Regions from separate parts of the Homo sapiens genome. Here all the other regions are linked to region 2. The links are contacts of gene promoters, found by promoter capture Hi-C in blood cells and fetal thymus (Javierre and others, 2016). All regions are on one chromosome and are shown on one strand. The core of a region is centred on a gene start or on the middle of the fragment in contact, and the rest is flanking DNA. Distances in the headings are between cores, read along the strand shown. Region 1 overlaps COL4A5 (collagen type IV alpha 5 chain). Region 2 holds the start of GUCY2F (guanylate cyclase 2F, retinal). Region 3 overlaps COL4A5 (collagen type IV alpha 5 chain). Region 4 overlaps TMEM164 (transmembrane protein 164). Region 5 has its middle 24 kb from the start of IRS4-AS1.

Region 1 (3,437 bases), core at 930-3,429, 790 kb after region 2:
ATTACAAAAAAACTTTTATTAGAAACGTATTTCTTAGAAGGTTGGATTAAAAGTGAATTACAGAGCTTGAGTTAATGGAGACTTTAACAAAACCATTAATTTTTTATTTGTGCAAAATTATGGGGCACATGAACATTTTTTTTATGTATATAATCCATAGTGATCAAGTCAGGGTATTTAGGGTGTCCATCACTCATGTACAATATATTTTTTAAGTATAGTCATTCTCTTCTGCTATCAAATATGGAATTAATTCCTTCTATCTTACTGTATGTTTGTATCCCTTAACCCACTTCTCTTCATCCTCCCCATTCCCCACACTTACCCTTCCAAGTCTCTGCTACCTGTCTTTCCACTCTCTGCCTCCATGTGTTCAAATTTTTAGCTCCCATATATACGTGAGAACATGTGATACTTGTTTTTTTTGTGCCTGGCTTATTTCACTTAAGATAATGACTTCCAGTTCCAACCATGTTGCTGCAAATGACATGATTTCATTTTTTATATGGCTGAATAATATTCCATTGTGTATATATACCACATCTTCTTTATCCATTCATCCTTTGTTGGATACTTAGGTTGATTCCATATCTTTGCTATTGTGAATAGTGCTACAATAAACATGTCAGTGTAACTATCTCTTTGATATACTATTTTCCTTTGGGTAAATATCCAGTAATGGGATTGCTGGATCTAACGGTAATTGTATCTTTAGCAAAGCTGTTATTTTGAATTATCCCTTTGAATTTGTCTGTCAGAGGTTTTCATACTTCAAGGCAATGTGCAAGAGTATGACTCTTACAAAGTGGGGAATGCATGACAGTGAAAGGAGACAAAGGAGACATGGGAAAGGAGATTGCCCAAAGCACATCTGCTAAAGTCAGATTGACTTTAGGAGAAAATACATATAAAAGTCGAGGAGTTGAAATTTGATTTTTAAAAAATAATGCCTCTGTGCATCATGGAAATTCTTCATATATTCAAAGGGGTATGCTTATCTCAGACTGAAGATGACTGATAAAAGACCAATAGATCTTAAACCTGTATTATCAGAATTATTTGGAATTTTTATACAATGGATTTGGCATAAGACTAGGAGTCTTAAAAAATTCCCTAGGTTGAAAATCATTGATTTAGTCTAATTTATCCCTTTCAAAAACTCGTTAAGAAAAACCTGACTGACTCACAGTCATGTAAGAGTGAACAACATGGGAAAATTTAAAAAGAAATGGATTTAGAATTGGCAGGTGTTACCTCCATCACTTTCTAACTGTAAGTTATTTAACCTATTAGCCAGTCTCTTTGTGTATAAAATGAAAAAGCAGAATATTTATATACATTTTTCTTAATCATAGTTGTGTAAATTAAATTAGACAATGGACATGAAAGTGCTTTGTACATTATAAAGTAATTTAAAAAAACCTATTCTACTGCCTAATTTGGGACAGAGCTGAAAATATCCAGTCTCGTAAGGAAAAGAAAGGTAAATAAAAGGAAGGCCCATAATGATGGAAGTATCTGGAGTATCTGGTTGCACCTGTGGCTGCCCACAATGATGCAGAATTCTGGGTTATAGTCTCCAAATTTTCGAAGAGAGAGTGATCCCATATACTCCCAATGCCCTCTATACCCCATAGTTATAAGACTTTAATAGACTAATGGTTCTCAGTATGTTTTTCTTTTCTCCCAGACAGAAAAGCTTTAGTATTTAATCCATCTTCTCTGTCTTCTTTCTTACATCCTATAATCCTTCCACTAATTCAACACAGACTGCATTTATTCGATCAGGAGGTAATTGTTTCTTTAACATCAAAGTGACAGCTGCCTGTATCTTTGCTTAGTCATCAAGATACTTCCAATGTGATCCTTGTGTGAGCCCCAGCAGAGCCTCTGCAATCCAGGACCATTCCTAGGATCTTGGGCTCCGTCATGGCCTTCCTGTGTCTGAGGCCTAAACTGTACCAGAGTCAGGGCCAGTTTATAGATTCCAAATCTGATTGTTCTTATTAGAGAAAATACATGGATTCTGAAAAGTTATAATTACATGCTGATAGCAGATTCCATCTTCTAACTGCATTACATTTTTGAATTCGTAGTGCTCAAAACTTATAATGGTTCCTCTGTTGACCTGGTAGGTTAGGGATTTGAAGTTTAAAGTTTGATTATAAGTCTGACAGTGTAGAGAGAATGAACAAAAAAGAAATTTATAGGAGAAAGACTAGAGAAAATTACCTGAAGATATTAAATTAAATTAATTATTTAGATATTTATTATTCGATTAAATTATGGAAAGATAATTTAATTACTAATTTAATGAAGATTGGTCAATTATAAAATTTAAAAAGATGTAACCAAGTGAAAAGGAGAAAGAAAAGTAGCAGAGGAAAGTTGAAAAGGAGAAAAAGGAAATATAAACGGAAGAAAAAAAGAAGATGGAAAAGAAAGCTATTGGGCAAACCCTTACATTATTTGGTTTCATAAAATGGCCTATGACCACTGACTTACATGTAAGTGAATATCCTTACCCTGGTGGGCCAGAACTGGTGTGGCCATATGCCTTGGAAAAATAGGGAGTAAAGCTGACCTCCGGGGTCTCTGCTGCTGCAGAAACATTTCCACAGAATGAATGGCCCAGACAATGAGATCTCAGGAAGCTTCTCATCATAGAGATCCCAGAAACTGGGAGCCCAGACTATCTTCTTAAATGTCTTTATGGAGGCAAAGGGGATAGTCAGTCTTAAAATAGGCAGCCCTGCCAGGTGCGGTGGCTCACGCCTGTAATCCCAACACTTTGGGAGGCAGAGGTGGGCAGATCACGAGGTCAACATTTCGAGACCAGCCTGGCCAACATGGTGAAACCCCGTCTCTACTAAAAATACAAAAATTAGCCAGGCATGCTGGCGGGCGCCTGTAATTCCCAGCTACTTCGGAGGCTGAGGCAGAAGAATTGCTTGAACCTGGGAGGCAGAGGTAGCAGTGAGCTGAGACCACGCCATTGCACTCCAGCCTGGGCGACAGAGCGAGGCTCCGTATCAAAAAAAAAAACAACACAACAACAACAACAACAACAAAATGCAGCCCCAGGTAAGACAATGGGACTTCAACATCCAAAGTCAGAATTCCAGGAAAAGAATTCATGGGGATGGAAGAGTCCTTGAGAGTGATTTAGTCCCCTCATCCCATCAACCTAGCTGTCCACCCCAGTATAGAGAAGATACATGGGAACACCTTAAATGAACTGGATTTTGTACAGAAATGTCATACTTTATATAGCTTTAAATGACTCCAGCAATACTTTATAAAGCTAAGGCACTTATTTTAGGAACTACAAACTAGCATAATTAAGCAATGACCTTACTTTCTTTGATCTATGAACCAAGATTCTCTTCAGAACTTATGAACTTGATGAAGACCAGTTTCAAAGATGAGGTAAGTAT
Region 2 (3,268 bases), core at 378-2,877:
TTCTGTCTCTACTGACCAGTGGCTGTGTGATTTTTGGTAAGTTACTGTAACCTCTCTGGATGTCTGGGAATTCAAATAGTATCTATCTCGTGGGGTCACTGTGAAGATCTAAGGAGACAGGGCTTCCAAAAATGCCTGTCACATCATTGGCACTCAGTAAGTATGATTATTGCCTAATTTATCTCAGTCTTGGCATCCTCATTTACAAAATGGAAAGAATGGGTAATATCCACCTTCATGGTTGTTGTGAACATAAAGATGTACATATAAGTATAATGTACATATAAAATGCCTGTCATACTTAAATAAAAAACTGATAGATAGTAACAAGTGTTGGTAAGAATGTAGGCAAAAAAGAACCCTCATATGTTGCTGGTGGGAATGCCAAATGGTGCATATACTTTGGAAAACAGTTTGCCAATTCAAAAAATGTTAAACATAGAGTTATTATATGACCCAGCAATTCCCTGGGTATATGCCAAAGAGAAATAAAAACAATATGTCCATATAAAAACTTTTACACAAAAGTAATAAAAGCAGTATTCATAATAGCCCAAGGTGGAAACAACCTAAATTTCCATCAACTGATCATGTGGTATACCCAAAAAAGTGGAATATTATTTGGCCACAAAAGAAATGAAGTACTGGTACAGGCTAGAACGTGCATGAACCTTGAAAACGGTTTGTTTTTCAAACAAAGTGTGTTTGGTTTTTTGTTCTTGCGATAGTTTACTGAGAATGATGATTTCCAATTTCATCCATGTCCTTCTTTCATTCAAACAAAGAAGCCACTCGCAAAAGATCACATGTTGTATGATTCCATTTATATGAAATGTTCAGAATAGGAAAATCCATAGAGAAAGTAAATTAGTGGTGGCCTGGGGCTAGGAGGAGGAGAGAAATGGGGAGTGACTTTTAAACAAGAATGGAATTTCTTTGTGGGAATAATGAAAATGTTGCACAAGCTTGTGAATATACTTTAAAAAAACCCTAAATTATATACTTTTGTGGTAGATAAATTATATCTCAATAAAACTATTATTAAAAAACATTTCTCATTTAATATAAGTCATTTTTAGCCCTTAACACCTCAGTTCTCACGTTGGGAATCCAGAACAGGGCCCTGAGTGAATGATGCCCAGGACAGAGAGGGACTTCTTAAGGAAAAGGAATACATCTAAAGTATGGGGAAACAATGTCTCTGTACAAAGGTGTAGAGGGAAGTAGGGAGTCTCTCTTGGGAGGAAAGGCAGTGAAGGCACTTAAGGGGAATAGGAGAAGGAGACAAAATTCACCTGCTTTGAATTTTGCAGGGAGCCAGCCTGGATCACCTTTTATATTCTGGGCTGGAATCACAGCTGATGAATGTTTTGGCATTTAGAACTGTCCTGGAGAAAGGGCGATTGGTGGTTATTAGACAGAATGGAACAAGGAAGAACACAGAGGCAAAATCTGAGAGTTTGTGTCTGACTTTGAAAGGTAAAAGAAGGCAGTAGTCTGTGGAGGACGTATTTATCCAGAGGACTCTATTTGTTTGTTAATCTCTGGGTCATTGCATTTAGGTCAGCACTAACTCTGCTACAGGTGGGATCAATTTAAAGGATTAGAAGTGTCACTCTAAATCCTAATCCAAGTCTTGGTCTGCGGATGCTGAAGAGTGATTTTCAAAACATTTACTAACGCTTTCAATTATTTACCCCATTAATGGAATTTGTCAACAGACTGGAGTCCTTGACAGGATTGTGAATGCATAGAGGATGCAAAGAAATGGACACACTGAGGTAGCTATGCCAGTGGTCTGCATGCGCAGGCAGTAAACTGAAGACATTTGAGCGGTGAATTACTTGGTGAGTAGTTGACAGCTCTTGTTTATAAGAAAGATTGTAATGGGGGGAAAAAAGACACAGCCCACCTGGGAGCTGAGACGCTGATTGAGATACATTAGTTTTACTGCAATATGTAGTAAAAAAAAAAATTTAAAGAATGAAGGAAAGAAGGAAAGAAGGGTTAAAGAGAGCCTTCGAGATACTTTAAGTCAAGATTTGAGCTCAAAGGCTCTCATCCAAGCTTTCGTTTAGTTTCTCTCATGATTCTTTTTTTATTGCTTCCTGATGTTGTCTTATACAAGCTGTTAACTTGATTCAGGCTGTAATTAGAAAGACAAATCAATCTTTCATAGAAGTCCTCGGCTTGACAAGCTGGTATGAGGAGCCATTTCCCTCAGAGCTATTTGTCATAGTCTTTCTTTGTACATGTTTAACGAACGGTGGTTTTCTGTGTGAAGCCAGGCTTCCCATCAGATTGTAAAAACTACCTGAAATGAAATTATGCATCCCTATGCTCTAGCCGCTTTCCATGGAAGTCTGATCCCATGCAGGTGTTCACACCTGAGTAACCTAGGCAATGGCCCCAGAACAACTGTGGGCCAGTAGTATTCTATTTCCAAAATTTCATACCTTCAAACTTTGTTTTAGTTATATCCACATTTCCCATTAACCCCAGGAAAGACTTTAGTGAGCTAATTTTTTTCCTTAAACCAAAATCAGCAGGTGGAGGTTTAGGGCATCCTCCCCCTATCTTGCCCCTTTCTTTCCCTCCCTCCCTCCCTTCCTTCCTTCCTTCCTTCCTTCCTTCCTTCCTTCCTTCCTTCCTTCCTTCCTTCCTTCCTTCTTCTCTCCCTTCATTCCTCCCTCCCCTTCTTTCCTTCCTTCTTTCTCTTCTTCCCTCCTTCCCTCTCCCTTCCTCCCCCTTCCTCTTTTCCTTCCTTCTCTCTTCCTCCCTTCCTTCCTTCCTTCCCTTCTTTTTTTCTTTTTTCTTTTTTAAAGAATAAGTTTCCTTCTGTAAAATCTTGAGTTGGGGGATCAAGACTAAATCCTACAGCAACATAAAACTTTCTGGTTGTCCAGGGAGTCCTAACAGAGTTAGAAATATCACCAAATGCATCACATCGGTACCAGAAAAAATGTAAGGGCAGACCTTCAGCTTGGGAAATGTTTATCTTGCAGTTAACAAAGGGAAAAGAGCAACAAAAACTGAGAGTGAATGCCAAGGGACACTTTGTGGCATGTGGCCTGAGGAGGGACCCGTGTTGTATGAATTTTAGAAATGGTATAAAAAATCTAACTTTTTAGAATTTGGGGTGGGCATTGTGCTTAGGAGTTACCTGGATTATAACACAAAAATGCCAGCCTTACACCTAGAATGGACAGTTAATCACTTTGATCTGAGGGGCACCAAAAGTTTCTTCATTTTTTTGCTCAAAAAGTAG
Region 3 (3,071 bases), core at 1-2,500, 900 kb after region 2:
AGACCCAGAAATCAATCATAAAATACCTCAAATGAGAAATGCAACATGAAGTAATGAAACAATTCTGAGCTAAGCCTAACCTGTGATGGTGTCTCAGATTTACTAGCTATGTAATCTTCACCAAGTTAATTAACTTCTCTGGTTTATATAGAAAGAATAAAGATTTTTGGACCAGAGTTTTAAGGTATTTCTAGTTGTAATATTCTTTGATTTTTAAGATTCCTATTTCTAGCCAACTACAAATACTCTATAAAGAAGATAATAGAAAAAAAATGGTAGCACTAGAATCAGTGAAAAAATTACTTTTTTTTTTTTTTTTTTTTTTACATTTAGCCATGTTTCTTCTCATAAAACTAGTCAAGGACATAAATGTAGTGCCATTTCTATTAGTGACAGACATTTTAGATGTGATGGACTTAACTATCATCAATAATAGCTAGTAAATCTGAATTGCTTTCATGAGCTTGCTCTTAGAAGCTAATGAAAGACAAGTTCAGATAAAACTTTTATCCTTGATTAGTAGCTACAACAGCATGAAAAAAACCACAATATTCAATATTCAAGTGTTACTCTACTACTGGCCAAGACACAAGGATGGTCTTTTTCATACTTCTATTCTGACTCTAAACTTGTTCATAGAAGCCATCCATCTATATACAAATACTATTTGACAAAAAATCATTTTATCGGAGTATTTCCTACCTCCATCTATTCTAATTGTGCCTTTTAAGCCATGCTAGAACTTGGACCTAATTTAAAAATAAACCACCATTAAAATATGTGCCTTCTGGGTACATTCAAGTTTGTAACGCCTTTCCTTCCTTGCCTGAAAAACCAAAAAGCTTTCAGTTTTTGATACGAAGCAATTAAAAACAAGAGGGATTGGAGGACTGGTTATTTTGTGCCCTGCTAAAAATCTGGTAATTGTATGCTTCATACAATCTTTCAAAGTCACTTGAAAAATAGGTAACTAAATAAATGACCTCAGTCAGACTGCATTGGCCCAGTAGGGGGGAAAAAACAACAAAGAATTAGCCACAGACTTACAGACAATAATTGCATACAGAATGGAAATGTTTAGTGGCGACGTTCTACATTCACAGTTATAAGCCTTTTTAGTAAGAGGACCTCACTAAAATAGTGCTGAATTCTCTTTGTGGAAAAAAAGAAGTTTTGCCGATACATGCTCAAAGTAAAGGCAATGACTTTTCACAGTGGAAATGCTAAAGTTAAACAATGCTTAATGTATTTCTGCAACATGGACTGTGATTTATGGCAATGGAATAAAATTTAGCAAGTGTGGTATAAAAGAAAAATGAGCAAAAGATGAATAAAGAAGGCATATTTTGAATATAAAAGCTAGTTATGTAGACTTTTTCCATTTATAACTCAAGCCTGGGAGAAGAAAAGGATTATTTTAGCTAGACTAAACCAGTCACTTCAAAGTATTAAAATTCTTACCTTTTCACCATCCCTTCCGGGTTCACCAGGGTAACCAGGATCACCAGGCAAACCCTTTAAAACATAGAGGATAGGGTGACATCAGCACAAATGATGGTGTTAGGAAATCTCCAAAGATTGTCTTCTCCATAGAAGCAATGAGAATACTGGCAAAAATGGTCAGTCAGAATTAACTTTCAGAACTTAACCAAAGCTTGCAGCAATTCAAGGAGTGTTTTCTCAGAAAAAAAAAAAAAAAAAAAGCTGAATCTTGGTGAGAACTCAGAGCTTTGTGGCATTTTAACTTGCTCTATTCCTACCACCTCTCAGAGATTTATGGCATTTTAACTTGCTCTATTCCCACCACCTCTCAGAGCTTTGTGGCATTTTAACTTGCTCTATTCACACCACCTCTCCTCACAATCAAGGTGAAAACCAGCAGCCTAGCAGCAATTGGAGAGGAAAGAACAGGGTTGGAGCTCCTTCAAAGCCCCATATCCAGAGAATTATCATTATTTGATCTGTCTGCTGGTTCAAAAGAAGGCTATTTGCAAGGCTGCCTTTATTTGACCCAACTTGGGTTCTCCCAGTGCAAACAGAGAACAAGAGAACAGCCTCCCCACCCCGCAACCCCAATTTGTTGAAAACACTAAGAGGCAATTGTTGAATATCACAGCTGCCTGAATCAAGACAAAGACCAATTGTTCCAAAAGAAGCCAGGAACTGAGGCCCTGAATTTACCTCTTGATATTTTATAATATAAAATATTTTTGAACTAGAGATTGTAAGTTGAGGATTGCCTGTTTAGTAAAATATCCTGAAACCAATTTATCTGAATTTAGTAATTCTAACCTGTCTTGTTAAGAATTATCCTTTTCCCTTAGAATAACTTACAAATTTCATCAAATATTCTCTCTGTCTTTGAAAAACTCTTGCCTACTGCGGATACTCTTGATACTGAAGCTGCTTGAAATAATGTTCTTGGACTTACATATTTTATTTCCCATGCCCCTTTTTGGTAGTAAGTAGAAGAATTACCTGTCAAAACTTTTACTGAAAAAACATGTTCACACACACACAAAAAAACTGTATGGGAATATTTATATTCATATAAATATTTTTATATGAATATAAAAGTTTTATTCATAATGGCCAAAACACAGAAATAACCAAAATATCCTTCAATGTGTAAATGGACAAACAAACCATGGTATATTCAAACTATCAAATACTACTCAGCAATAAAAAAATGAACTGATACACAATTCAATGTATTATGTTATGTGAAAGGATCCTGATTCGAAAGGCTACATACAATATGATCCAATGTATCTGACATTTGGGAATAGGCAAAATTAAAGAGATTGACAAAAGATCAGTCGTTATAAGGGGGTTGGGATAGGGGAATAGGGAGGGGATAACTAAAAAAGAGCATGAGGGAACTTTTGAAGGTGATGGAAGTGTTCTTGATTATGGTGGTGGTGACACAACTGTATGTGTTTGTCAAACACAGAACTGTAAACTAAAAATAGTTCCTTTTACTTTATGTAAATTATATCTCAATAAATCTGACTTTAAAAAATAGAGGAACCTCAAATTTATATTTGGTGTAACTGGATTGTTTGTAATGC
Region 4 (3,066 bases), core at 204-2,703, 540 kb before region 2:
AGGGAATGGCATGATCCAACATGTATTTTACTTGTATCATTCTGGCAGTAGTGTAAAGGGTCGAGTAGTAGATAGAGTAAAGGATAGAGTAGTGTAAAGGATAGAGGAGAGAAGATCAATCACAAGGCTGCTCTAACAAGACAGGTGATGATGATGACAGTGATAAACAACAACATGAACCAGGGCAGGGGAATCAAAGAAGAAAAGGAAGAGAAATGGAAGAGATCATGAAAGGCAGAATCAAGATGACTGAGACTATGATGATGAAAAGGAGGAAGAGGGTGGAATTGAGATGTATCAAGGTTTCTAGGGATTTAACCTGGGTCACTGGATGGATTGTGATGCTGTTAAATAAGATAAGAGTACTGAAGGAACAGTATCATGGCAGATGATACTGTTTCATTCCAAATCCCCCAACCACTTTACTTAGGATGCATGGCTTTCAAGCCCTCTTGAGTACACTGGGAAGAAAAAAGCAGGATCTACATTGCTTGATGGCCCCAGCATTTATATAACCCTACATACAAACCTACCTTTCTCCCTTTTGCCAGGCTACCAAGGAAATAACATCAATATCTGATTCTAGAAACAGGTGGCCTAGGGAATGTTTAAATGTTCCTGCTCTCAAGACATGATGATTGTTCTCATTTTGATAGCACTTTCTTATATTCACAGCACATTCATATATTCACAGCACATTCACATACCTTATTTGACTTGATTCTCATATTTACCCTATAAGGTAAGAAGGGCAAAGATCATCTCTGTCTTACAGATGATAACAGCCATACTCATATTTATTAAACACTTGCCATGCACCACTATTCTAAACACTTCACATGTAGTCATGCATTTAATTCTTACAAGAACCCCATAAAGTAGATACTACTATTAATCCCCATTTTGCAGATAAGAAAACAGACCCAGAGGCTTTAGGTATACTGGTCTAGCAATAAACAAGAAAAATAATGAACTTGGAAGACCTCAAACAAAATAAAACAAAACAAATCAAAAACCATGCCTAGATATGTCAATTAACTTTCCCAGAGTTGCACAGCTAGAAAGCAGCAGAACTGGGATTTGAACCTGACTAGTCTGGCTCCAGAGCCTGCACTTTTAACTACCACACTCTATTTCTTATTATATAAGAAGACTGAGGCACAGAGAGGCTACCTGAATGGCCAAAATTACTCAGTTTTGTCAACCAGCTAGTGATGAACCTACAACCAGGACCCAGGTCTGGCTAACCCTTAATCCAGTGCTGTTTCTACTACTCAACCAAGATGAACTAACCTCTACTACTGGGCTGACAGATTATTCTGACGTTTTTCTTCTTTGGCCTTTGTCACCTCTGCTAGACTAAGGTTCTAATTTTGATCCCTTGCCCTGGAGCCCCATACAACTGTTTACTAGGATTAGATGCAGGCCTCTATTTGGAGGCAGGAAATGATGGCCTCAGTTATATCCGCAGCTGAGTGGGTCCCATTTCCAAACAACCAACATCTGCAAGCAACCCATACTGGCTCTACATGCAGGCTCAGTGAGCACACACATCCCTGTGAACTGTCTGTCCAGGGCAAACAGCAAGTAATGGTGACACCAGGGCCAGACTCCTCTGTGGAAGACAGGAAGCAAGGGCAGGAAAGTAAATTGAAAAAAACAGTTGCTATACCAGCCAGGTAAAGAGGTGGCCTGCAGGCCGGGCGCAGTGGCTCACGCCTGTAATCCCAGCACTTTGGGAGGTGGAGGCAGACAGATCACCTGAGGTCAGGAGTTCGAGACCAGCCTGACCAACATTGAAAAACCCCATCTCTACTAAAAATACAAAATTAGCCGGGCATGGTGGGGCATGCCTGTAATCCCAGCTACTCGGGAGGCTGAGGCAGGAGAATCGCTTGAACCCAGGAGGCGGAGATTGCGGTGAGCCAAGATCATGCCATTGTACTCCAGCCTGGGCAACAAGAGTGAAACTCCGTCTCAAAAAAAAAAAAAATGAAAGAAAGAAAGGAAGGAAGGAAGGAAGGAAGGAAGGAAGGAAGGAAGGAAGGAAGGAGGGAGGGAGGGAGGGAGGGAGGGAGGGAGGGAGGGAGGGAAGGAAAGAAAGAGAGAGAGAGAGAGAGAAAGAAAGAAAGAAAGAAAGAAAGAAAGAAAGAAAGAAAGGAAGGAGGTGGCCTGCAGCCAGGAGATCCTCACTTTCAAGAAGGCAATAAACAATGATGCTCAAAAAGCACAAGATTTCCATTTCTCTAATAGTGAGCAAGAAGAAAAGTCTAGTTCCTTTCATGCTGGAAGGTTAAGGATAGAAGGAGGCCATGTGTGGTATTATAGAGAGATATTGAAATGGGAGTCAGGAGACTCAGCTCTGCTTCTATTTAGCTGTGTGACTTTGGGCAAATCACTTCACCTCTCTGGGTCTCAGTTTGCTCATCTGGAAAACAAGGGATGAAAAAGAAACAAATTAGTTGTTCTCAGAGGTTTCTTTCAGCTCTGATTTGGTATCACTCTGCCATTTTAACAACCTGAGAAAGTACAGCTAGAACATCCAGTGCCTATAGTCTACCAAAGGGGAAATCAGCTAGAAGCAAAGAAAAGAAGAATTAGATAAAACAGGCCAGGTGTGGTGGCTCACTCCTATAATCCCAGCACTTTGGGAGGCTGATGCAGAAGAATCGCTTGAGCCCAGGAATTCAAGACCAGCCTAAGCAACATGGCAAGACCCCATCTCTACAAAAAACAAAAACATTAGCTGGGCGTGGTGATGCGTGCCTGTGGTTCCAGCTACTTGGGAGGCTGAGTCAAGAGGATCGCTTGAGCCCAAGGGGTCAAGGCTGCAGTGAGCCATATTCATACCACTACACTCCAGCCTGAGCAACAGAGCAAGACGTTGTTTCAAAAAAACAAAAAATTACATGAAACAAAAAACAACCTTTCTGGAAGGCTGCAAATGAGGTAATACACAGGCAGTAGACTAAGCACCATGCCTAAAGCATAATTAACGTGTATTCAAAAATGTTACAAGTGTTATTACTACCACTCCTCACTTTTCTGAGAGTGTACAAAGATAAC
Region 5 (3,377 bases), core at 759-3,258, 770 kb after region 2:
GTACACCAAGACACAGCATGATTATGTAATGTAGAAAGAACAAAGATAAATATGACAACTTTCTCACCAGAAAGTATGCACATAAGAAGATGTTGGAAGAGCATATTTAAAGTACTGATAGGATTAAAAAACTATTTACTAGAAATCTATATCTAGTGAAATTGAAGGCAAAAATAAAGATTTTTTCAGACTTATAATAGCTGAAGGAATTCATTACCAGCAGACTGCTCCATAAGAAGTGTCAAATGCTGGTGAAGATGTGAACAGAGAAACCGCATACACTCTTGTTGGAAATGTAAATTAGTGCAACCACTATAACAATTTGGAGTTTTCTCAAAAAACTGTACATTGAACTACCAAATGATTCAGCAAATATGCACTGCTGGGTATGTACCCAAAAGAAAGGAAATCAGTATATGAAAGAGATTTCTGTACTCCTGTTTGTTGTAGCACTGTTTACAATAGCTAAGATTTGGAAGCAACCTAAGTGTCTATCAACAAATGCACGGATAAAGAAAATATGGTACATATACACAATGGAGTACTATTCAGCCATAAAAAGAATGAGATCCAGTCATTTGCAACAACATGGATGGAACTAGCAATCATTAAGTGAAATAAGCCAGGGACAGAAAGACTAACATAGCATGTTTCCACTTATTTGTGGAATCTAAAAATCAAAACAATTCAACTCATGGACATAGAGAGTAGAATGAGGGTTATCAGAGGCTGGGAAGGATAGTGAAAGGTTGGGGGAGGAGGGAGTGGGGATGGTTAATGAGTATAAAAAAGTTAAAAAAAAATGAAAAGACCTAATATTTGACAGCACTACTATAGTCAATTGATTTATTATTGACTGTAGTCAATTGATTTACTGACTACAGTCAATAATAACTTAACTGTACATTTTAGAGAACTTAAAGAGTGTACTTGGATTGTTTGCAATTCAGTGGATAAATGCTTGTGGGAATGGATACCCTATTCTTTATTATGTACTTAATTCGTATTGCACGCATGTGTCAAAACAACTTATATACTCCATAAATATATACATCTACTATGTACTCACAAAATTTTTTTAGAAAAAGAAAAAGTAAAGAAATGTCAAAGGAATTCTCTCATACATGGAAAATAATACAACATGGAAATATAGATTTATACAAAGAAATGAAGAGCATTGAAAATGTAAACTATATATAAACTATTTTTATTATTTATTTCTTATTATTTAAATGAGGGCATTAGTGGAAATGGTGCTCTAAGAAACTCTGAAAATTCATTTCTCCATAAAAGCAAAGAGAACACTGAAAAAATTTTCAGAATCAACTCTTTAAGAACTCTGAAAATTAACAAAAGCCTTGTAGCAATCTGGGGAGTGTTTATTTAAGAAAAATGTCTGCATCTCAATAAGAACAGTGAGATTCCTAGTATTTTAACTTGCTCTATTCCCATCTCCCTCTCCCCAAGCTCTATAGTAGCCTAGTAAACTAATAGCCCTCAATCATAATCATGATGAAAGTCACTCACCTGGTAGCCACTGGAGGGAGCAGAAAAGGGTTGGAGCATTTTGAAAGCTTCATTCCCAGAGAACGGCCATTATTGACCTGTCTGGTGATTCTGTGGACACCCTAATCACAAGGCTTGTCATTATTTGCCCTGACACAGAGCTCTGCCCATGCAAACAAATTTTCTTTGGGGGCATTTGTTGAAAACACTCAGTGGCAATTGTTTAATATTGCAGCTGCCTGAGGTGGTGAATGACAGTTGGGGAAAACATTAGGCTAACTAAAAATCTGAAAAAGAAAATGGGAGGGAGAATGAGATGCCCATAGGAGACTTTGAAAAGTTATAAAATAGTTTGAAGAACCTAGAAGAAAAAGTACAGGTGTAGTGATATGATAATGCCCAGGGCTATGTACAGGCTCAGGAGAGGCATGAGAAGGCCCAAATCTCTCATCACTGCCTAATCTTGAGGCTTCTATATAAGCAAGGAGTGAAGACTAAGGCAGAGCTAAAAACTGCCTAGCTGAATGTTGAAAATGTGTCCTAATGAGCACACAGAACCACTCAGAAATGACTGGGAGATTTATTAATCCTAGTCATTTAGGGAAATCTCTCTAAAATAATTAGCTGGAAACCAATTTAACTGAGCAAAGACTTTAGTGGCTACACATAACAATTCAGATTTTACAAAATTAGTACAGAAACACCATTAAACAAACAAAAGACAACAAAAAATAGCAACAACAACAAACTCTGGGAGTTGGGGGTAGTGGTGGAATCTGGTTTCCAAAGTTGCCAGATTATATTATTTTAAATGTCCAATTGTGAATAAAAAGTATGAGAAGTAAAAAAAAAAAAAAAAAAAAAAACCAACAAGGAATTACGGCTGACACACAGGAAAAGGAGCAATCAATAGAAAGTGTTCTTGAGGAAGCTTTGACCTTAGACTTACTAGACAAAGACTTTTGAATTAGCTATTTCAAGTATGCTCAAAGAACAAAAGGAGACCATGTTTATAGGACTAAAGAAAAGTCTGGGAAGGATCTCTCACCAAATAGACAATATTGATACAGAGAGAAATTATAAAAAGAACTAAGCAGAAATTCTGGAGTTGAAAAGTACTGAAATAAAAAATGTACTAGAGGGGCTCAACAATAGATTTGGACTGGCAAAAGAAGGAATCAGTACCTTTGAAGATAGGCCCAATGAGTTTATCTAGTCTGATAAACAGAAAGGTAAAATAATTTTTTTAAAAGTGAGCAGACCCTCTGAGAAATATGGGGCACCATCAAGCATACAAACATGCATATAATGGAAGTACCAGAAGGAAAGGAGAGTATACAGGGGCAGAAAGAACATTTGAAGAAATAATAGCCAAAATCTACCCAAATTTGATGGACTACATTAATATATACATCCAAGAAGCTCAACTCCAAGTAGGAATAACTCAAAGACAACCTCAGCGAGATACGTTATAATTAAACTGTCAAAAGTAAAAAAGACCATTTCTCCAAAGATATACAAATGGCTAATAAGCACTTAAAAAGAGTCTCAACATCACTAATCATTAGGGAAATGTAAATCAAAACTGCAATGAGATAACACCTTACATCTCTTAGGATGGTAACTATGAAAATAATCAGAAAATAATAAGTGTTGGTGATGACGTAGAGAGGTCGGAACCCTTGTACACTATTGATGTGAACGCAAAATAGTACAGCCATTGTGGAAAACAGTATAGTGTTTCCTCAAACTTATAAAAGCAGAATTACTGTAAGATTCAGCAATTTCATGTCTTGTTATATACCCAAAAGAATTCACAGCAGGCTCTCAAAGAGGTATTTGGACAGCCATGTTAATAGGAATATTATTCA

The links. The method cuts DNA at HindIII sites, captures the fragments that hold promoters and counts their contacts. A CHiCAGO score of 5 or more calls a contact.
Region 1: a contact is called between a fragment that was not itself captured here and the fragment with the promoter of GUCY2F in region 2, in 2 of 17 cell types (M0 macrophages and M1 macrophages). The highest score is 6.5, in M0 macrophages.
Region 3: a fragment that was not itself captured here is called in contact with the fragment with the promoter of GUCY2F in region 2 in 1 of 17 cell types (M0 macrophages); the score reaches 5.3 in M0 macrophages.
Region 4: a contact is called between a fragment that was not itself captured here and the fragment with the promoter of GUCY2F in region 2, in 1 of 17 cell types (neutrophils). The highest score is 5.1, in neutrophils.
Region 5: a fragment that was not itself captured here is called in contact with the fragment with the promoter of GUCY2F in region 2 in 2 of 17 cell types (M0 macrophages and M1 macrophages); the score reaches 9.1 in M0 macrophages.

The regions. Positions count from the first base shown.
Region 1 is chrX:108,688,051-108,691,487 of GRCh38, reverse strand. All of the region lies in intron 49 of COL4A5 (collagen type IV alpha 5 chain), which reads right to left. Among named protein-coding and RNA genes, the nearest start is that of IRS4-AS1, 47 kb to the left of the region's middle. The HindIII fragment of the contact is 955 bases long and covers 1,702-2,656 here.
Region 2 is chrX:109,480,445-109,483,712 of GRCh38, reverse strand. GUCY2F (guanylate cyclase 2F, retinal) reads left to right here and starts at 1,627. Exons shown (of 20, transcript NM_001522.3): 1 at 1,627-1,847. The HindIII fragment of the contact is 1,102 bases long and covers 968-2,069 here.
Region 3 is chrX:108,581,328-108,584,398 of GRCh38, reverse strand. COL4A5 (collagen type IV alpha 5 chain) reads right to left here. Exons shown (of 53, transcript NM_033380.3): 17 at 1,462-1,515. Among named protein-coding and RNA genes, the nearest start is that of COL4A5, 140 kb to the right of the region's middle. The HindIII fragment of the contact is 812 bases long and covers 845-1,656 here.
Region 4 is chrX:110,016,500-110,019,565 of GRCh38, reverse strand. The region is part of intron 2 of TMEM164 (transmembrane protein 164); the gene reads right to left. Among named protein-coding and RNA genes, the nearest start is that of TMEM164, 15 kb to the right of the region's middle. The HindIII fragment of the contact is 7,123 bases long and covers 1-3,066 here.
Region 5 is chrX:108,711,256-108,714,632 of GRCh38, reverse strand. No RefSeq gene overlaps it. Among named protein-coding and RNA genes, the nearest start is that of IRS4-AS1, 24 kb to the left of the region's middle. The HindIII fragment of the contact is 863 bases long and covers 1,577-2,439 here.